Regions from separate parts of the Homo sapiens genome. Here region 1 is linked to region 2. Evidence: promoter capture Hi-C in 16 types of primary human blood cells and fetal thymus (Javierre and others, 2016). All regions are on one chromosome and are shown on one strand. The core of a region is centred on a gene start or on the middle of the fragment in contact, and the rest is flanking DNA. Distances in the headings are between cores, read along the strand shown.

Region 1 (3,287 bases), core at 323-2,822, 250 kb before region 2:
CAGGATCTTGTAGCAACAGAGCAGAAATCTCCAGGTAGAAACAGGAGAATCAAGAAAATATGAACATGCGGAGTCAAGGAAATGCAAGGTACCCGGAACAAGCAGTAGGCAAATCCAATCACAAAGGAGCAGAAACAAACTACCCAGTGGATTTGGCTATAAAGTTGTAGCTACATGGTTCAGATTGGAATGGAGAAGCCAGAAGAGGGATGGAGGAACTGACTTTGAAAAGGAGGAACATCGCCTTATCAGAAGTTGGAGGGGGAAGGGGTGGAGGATGGAGACCAGTATTTATATGTTTACAGGGGAAGGAGCAAGGTCAGGTGTTGTGGCCTAAATTGTTTTTGAAGTAGGGTACCAGATATCTGCTGAGAAAGGTGGTGTGAGTGGGTGATAATAGCTGCAGAGACCATTTAAGAGGAATGGGAAGGTTAAGAGTGGCCACTGGGGAGACTGGGATGGGCACCTGGCCAGACTGAATGGATCAGTAGGTGATTTAGTGGGCCCAGTTGTCACAAGTTCCACATTTTAGAGACTATTTATTCTCCAGTTGCTCTGGGAGTAGAGAAGGTGGCTTGTAGCACCTTTTCTTTTTCCAGGTTGAGGTTTTGTAGAAGGTGTTACCAATGCCAAGACCCTCCTGCTCCCTTGACTCCAGTTGCCTTGGCTCCTTAAGGAGTCCCAGAGTGACAGAGAAGAAGCAGTGGCCATTTTTTCTGCAAAAGCTTTGGCTCTTTTATGAAGTCCATGATTTCTACCATGTCATGAAAGCCAGGTCCAAGCCTGGAGTTAATAAGTCCAAGATCCTCTACAGCCTCTTCTCAGTCTCATGCCTTCCAATCTCTAGGGCAGCCTACATATCAAAAGGGATTTACAGGGGCTACTCTGGTGCTTCTTTTGTCCAAGAACCTTTGTCTGTCCTTTGCCATTCCAAAATCCATCATCACCAAATTAGCCATTCCAAAACTGCTCAGCATTAGAAATCCGGAGTTGGGTAGATTCTATGGACCAATAAATGGAATTTTTCGAAACATCCACACTCCCTTCTTTCCTTTCCTATGTGTCCTCTTAGTCTAACTGGCCCCAAGCTCAGTGGCCTTCAGACAGAAGCAGAAATGTTCCAAGATGATTAGCTAGGAACACAAGGTACAACTGAAAATCCATTGTGCAAACAAGTGCCTGTTTGATTTTCTCTTCACTTCCCTTTGGGTATTAAGCTTCCTTTCAATTCGTGTTTGGTTTCTGGTAATAAATATGGCACCAGTTTCATTGATTAATTATGAAGATTAAATGTGAGAAGTCAAGAACGCAAAGCAGTGCCCAGCATGTTCAGCATTCAGCACACAGCACTATTGTTTGTAGGAAGCATTCGCACAATGCTGAGACAGCTGGAAGGGTTGACATTGTGAGGGGAGGGCCCTTCTTTCACCATCCTTTGCGTAAATGGCTTATCTCACCTCCACTCAACAAGCCCAGTGTATGGCCTAGAACTCCCATCATACCTGTGCACCAATTGAGGAGAGACACATGGGTGGGAAATTGCAATAAAAAGACGGCCCACAGCAGGCTGCATTCCCATGGCTGGCCAGAGGAGGAACGCTTTGTGTTCTCATCGGAGGTAAGTCCTGCTTTAAGCCCCAGGAGGCTTCCTCCTAATCCTGGGAAATCTTGATCCACTGGACATGCTAGGATTCTTTGTTTCTGGAAATTTTTAGAACCCAGCAAGTAGTTTGGACCCTGGCCATTGTCAAGTGCTCCAGGTACCACTCTATGTCCAACTCAGTCATGCTTCCAGTCATCTGCGATGCTCCAGGCCTACGGACGCCACCCTCTTCCTTGTCCCAGATATTCCCACCAGGGAACTAGGTCTCTATTGGGATCTCATCTCTAAGAATCACCAATCCTGGGTGCTTCCCTATCCCTGCTGTCTCATAGCATACTCATGGTATCCCTGCCCGAAACCGATCTCTATTTTCCACTGAAGTCTTCCAGAGGTTGTAGGAAGTTATCCAAAGATTTGGCCATTTAGGGAAAGTATTTCCCAGAAAAGTAAATGCCATCCAAATGCTGGCAGGCTTTTTTGCAGCTCTTTCTTTCTGCCTCGCCACCGCCCCCAACCCCCATTGATTTATTTATTCATCCTTAATCCTCTACTGAGTACTCCTTGTGTGCCAGATTCTGTACTAGGAGCAAGGAACATGAGGCTCGGTTTGGCATGGTTCCACAGTCACAGAAATCTACATCCATAGAGGACATTTCAGGGGGCTCTTAGCAGCACCCAATGCATAAAACTAAGAAAGGGCAGCCATTACTTTTGTGTGCAGGTATTCACAGGTACCATATCCCTTTTTCTCTATCCAATCTCCAAAGAGCCTCTACTTCCACCTGAGCAGGGACCATCCTGAGACCTTTCTAGGACATTCTGCAGTACTAGCCAGCTCTAAGCTTGCCTTTGGTTTGCTTACTGTCAATTTTATCACCCATTATCTCGCTCTATCTGTCCATAAGTCACACCTACTTTGAAACAATGCAGCTCTTTATGAAGGAAGTCAACGGATCTGTTTCTAAGAACATAGACCTATGCCCTAATCTTATCTTGGTCTTTTCTTTCCCATAGCTGCATGGGAAGTCTGCATACAGCAAAGTGACCTGCATGCCTCACCTTATGGAAAGGATGGTGGGCTCTGGCCTCCTGTGGCTGGCCTTGGTCTCCTGCATTCTGACCCAGGCATCTGCAGTGCAGCGAGGTAAGTATTCTGCTCACCTGGCATCTCAGATGTCAAGGAAGACCTAGCAAGTGAGGATAGAAGTGCAGAGAAGGTGGCTCAGGTAAGGAAGAGGAATTGGCAGTTCTAAAGCAAAAACTCAGAGCTAGAAGTCAAGGGAAACATAATGAGAAACAATGGAAATCAAGTCACAATCTCTCAAAGAGCCTAATCAGAAATTCCTCTGAAAGGGCAGTGGGAGCCAGTTAACATAATTTCCCATGCCCATATCTTTGGGAGATTAGAGACCCCAGATTAAAGAAGATCAAGAAATACATAACTCAGTCACCTTGTGCTGGCAAGTGCCTTCTCCTTTTCCTGAAAGGGCTAGATTAAGTGATCTCTTTATGAAGTGGGCAATTCAGATACTTGCAGAAAGGAGTCTCAGGCTTAGAATTAGAGTGCAAATTTCAGCCCCTGGAGGAGGGTGGGAGAGGGTACTGAGCTCATTGGAGGCCTCCAGTGGAAAAATACAATCTAAGAATAACAAATGCAGTGATTCCTTGTCTTAAAATAAGTACA
Region 2 (3,354 bases), core at 569-3,068:
CGCCCCTGGCTATCCCCAACTTCTCATCTCAGTCTAGCTGCCTGCAGACCAATCCAATCTATAGGTTTTTGAACAATTATTTATTGAGCTTCTACAATGGCCAGCCACTGCTTTATTCATCAATGCAGCGGTGTTCTCGTTTTCTTTGTGTTTGCAGTAGTCATATTTAATCGAGAGAGGTCATAATAAAATTTCAGTATCTAATGGGGCTTGAAATCTCAGACCTGGCCTCACTGGGCTGGGTCCATGTGACTCTAATCTGCCCTTTTGTGGGGCCACGTGCCTCCTTGCTTACCACAGACCCAGCTAGATCCAGTAGATGCCCCCCTTATGCAGACTGCCTGACTCTGTATGCTTTGGAGATTTCCACTCTGCCCTAGAGTGTCCCCCATCCCTGCCTGGGGTAACCTCTAACAAAGACAAGAACTGGATACATGCTCTTTGCTGGTCTTGAGGGACAGGGGTCTGCTCCACGTTGGGAGACCTGGAAGAGGCTGGGGAAAGCTTAGCCAGTTCCTTCTCTCCAGGAATGGATGTGATATAGGGGTGAGGGGCGTTGGGAAGCAGCGGGAGTGGGGGGTTTGAGGGCGGGGGGTCTTAGGCTTCTCAGACCCATCACAGCTCTTTGCATAGGCAGCTGCTACAGTCTGCTCCTGGGGATGCCTGGCCTGGGTGTTCCTGCAGAATCTTTAACTCTCTCACACTCACTGTCTTGAGCCCCAGACAGACACTATGTCCCTCTCTCTCTCTCTCTCTCTCTCCTCTCTCTCCTCTCTCTCTCTCTCTCTCTCTTTCTCTCCTCTCTTTCTCCTCAAGTCTGTGGTGGCCACACCCGGAACCCTCCACCTGCCTGCCCTGAGGAGAAAGGACCACCCACCCACACATTGCTTGGATCCCACCTGCCTTACAAATGCTACCCTTCACACAACCTTCAAGCACTCTCGACAAGCCCCCATGACTCCCGCGTGCGTTTTCGTATGTTTGGAGCGCCCTGTGAGTGTGGTCTTGTGCATGGTGATGAGGATGCCTGCGTGTTTTCAAGGGTCTGGGTGTGGGATGGGAGAGCATCCGCGTGCCTGAGTGAGCGTGTGAGTACACCGCATGCCTGGGTATTGTGTGTCTTTGTGTGAGCGTGGGCGAGTGCGTGTTTGAGTGTCTGCAACATCCTTATTCCTGACTGAAGGGCGGCATGCAGGAGGGGCTTCTCTTAGCCAGTCTGTATCCTCTTCAAACGCACTCCAGTTAGGGGACAGTTCACCGGCGGCCACCCCCAGAGTCGCCACACACACGCACAGGGAGGCACGCACCCCTCTTTCCAGAGCCAGCAAGCTCAGCTTCCCTTGTCGAGGAAAACCGACAACGCTTTAGCATCCTCGCTGCTCCAACAGCCCCACCCCTTCCCCCGTTCTTTGCCCTAGGTATAGAATCCTCTATCCGGAGATGGACTGGAAGCATTGGAGAGGGGCAAGAGAGGTGGCTGCGAGGAGAGTGGAGAAAGGCAAACTGAGGACACGCTGGAGGAGTGAGGAGCCGCTGCGGGAGAGGCAGATCCTACCCACACCACGCCCCTCCCTCGGGGTTGGAGATTGGGGATAGCCTGTTTTCCACTCCGGTCTTCCTTCGGGGCTCCCAGGTCTAACTGCATCTTCTCCCCTGAAAGTGGAGCCAAGCGAGGCGGCTGGGACCCCCTCCTCTTCCGCATCCCTCCCACCCCACACACACTCCGCTTCCAGGCAGCCGCTGATTGGCTGCGGGGAGCGGCGTCCCAGCCCCCCGGCTTTGAGGCGGGAGTGGAGCGGGTCCGAGGTGGGAGGCGCACAGACGGGCTCCGGGAGCCCCTCCCGAGGCCCCGCGCAGCGCGCCCCGCACCCTGCGCCCCGCGCCCTGCGGGAGGGCTGAGCCAAGACTCCAGGCGGGCAGGTGCGGAGCGAGCAGAGGGGATCACGGCCAAGGGTAGGAGCCAGTCCTGCGGGGAGAGAGGCGCTGCTGCTCCAGCTGCCGCTGCCTCCGCCGCCGCCACCACCGAGCCGGCGACCAGAGTCGGGCTGGCAGGCCGGGCGCGAAGCGGCAAGGGGAGCGAGGGGCGCGCTCATGGAGCACACGCACGCCCACCTCGCAGCCAACAGCTCGCTGTCTTGGTGGTCCCCCGGCTCGGCCTGCGGCTTGGGTTTCGTGCCCGTGGTCTACTACAGCCTCTTGCTGTGCCTCGGTTTACCAGGTGAGGGGCGTGGGGGAGAGGGAGGGAAGCCAGGAACCCCAAGTGCCGGGCAACCCTACCCAGAATCCCCCGTCCTCCCCCGTGCGTTCCCTGGCGCCCCCTCGGAAAAAGTTTAAGCTTTAAGGGCAACTATGGATATTTCCACACGGGGGGAAAGGAAGTTGCTGTGCCCTAGCTGGGGACCGTGTGTGTGTGTGTGCGCGCGCGAGCGTGTGTGTGTGTGTGTGTGTGTGTGTGATGACTGTGACGGCGGGCGATGGGCTGGGCATGTGAGCATGGATTCGAAGGTGCATTTGTGCGCGCATCTGGAGGGGGCGGCTTTCATGGGGTGGGGGCGTAGAGGGCTTTGTGTGTGTTTGGCTTGACTGCATGTTCTGGACAGAAGGCTTCGTGGAGGCTTCCCTTCTCCCGTGGCCCCTGCACGTCCACCCCACTTGGGGCACCTCTGCCCCTCTGCGTGTCCCCGCCTGACACGAGATGAAGCTGGAGACCCTGACATTGAGCACTCTCTTGCTCGGGGGGCACTGGAATGGAGAAAGAATGCCTAGCAAGAAAAGGGTCTCCCAGCTGGCTAAGGAGAATCAGGGGTTGGCTCTGGGACCATGCCCTGGCCAGGGCAAGGGTGCAGAGACACACAGGGCAGCCTGCGGTGGCTGCCACCTCAGGGGGTCACAGTCTCCTTGAGGACATGCCTGGCCCCCTGGCTTGGCCTCCAGGTCTACCCACCCTGGGCAGCTCACGGCTGCTGTGGATGTCTGGCTGGTCCCACATCTTAATGTCCTTTCCAAAGTGTGGCTGAGACTTGTCCTGAATTCCTGAAGAGAGCTGAGCTGCCGAGAAGGAGGGAGTGCTTGCCTGGGCCGTGTGCGAGAGAGAGCGAGAGAGAGAGAAAGCTTTTTTCCTGGGGCTCCAGCTTTGGGTGGACCCTCCTTGCAGGCAGTCTTGGTGACAAATAGATCCCTAAAGATTACTTGCATGCAGAGAGGAGAGAGGGACTGAAAGAAGCAGAGAGAAAGAGAGAAAAAAAATCCAGTGTACAGCCTGAAATCTTAGCATCATCTCCCTAGTCATCTCTTAGTCTGCGAACCTTAGCATCTTGCGATCCTGGGAACTTGGGAGCTGGATTTCTGAGAGCC

What was found. Contacts are between HindIII fragments. The CHiCAGO score rates a contact against its expected background, and 5 or more counts as called.
Region 1: the fragment with the promoter of GP2 here is called in contact with the fragment with the promoter of GPR139 in region 2 in 3 of 17 cell types (M0 macrophages, M1 macrophages and endothelial precursors); the score reaches 8.1 in M0 macrophages.

What each region holds. Positions count from the first base shown.
Region 1 is chr16:20,325,798-20,329,084 of GRCh38, reverse strand. It overlaps GP2 (glycoprotein 2), which reads left to right and starts at 1,572. Exons shown (of 11, transcript NM_001502.4): 1 at 1,572-1,618; 2 at 2,618-2,747. The coding sequence starts at 2,654. The HindIII fragment of the contact is 1,228 bases long and covers 1,220-2,447 here.
Region 2 is chr16:20,072,354-20,075,707 of GRCh38, reverse strand. It overlaps GPR139 (G protein-coupled receptor 139), which reads left to right and starts at 1,818. Exons shown (of 2, transcript NM_001002911.4): 1 at 1,818-2,218. The coding sequence starts at 2,092. The HindIII fragment of the contact is 1,831 bases long and covers 507-2,337 here.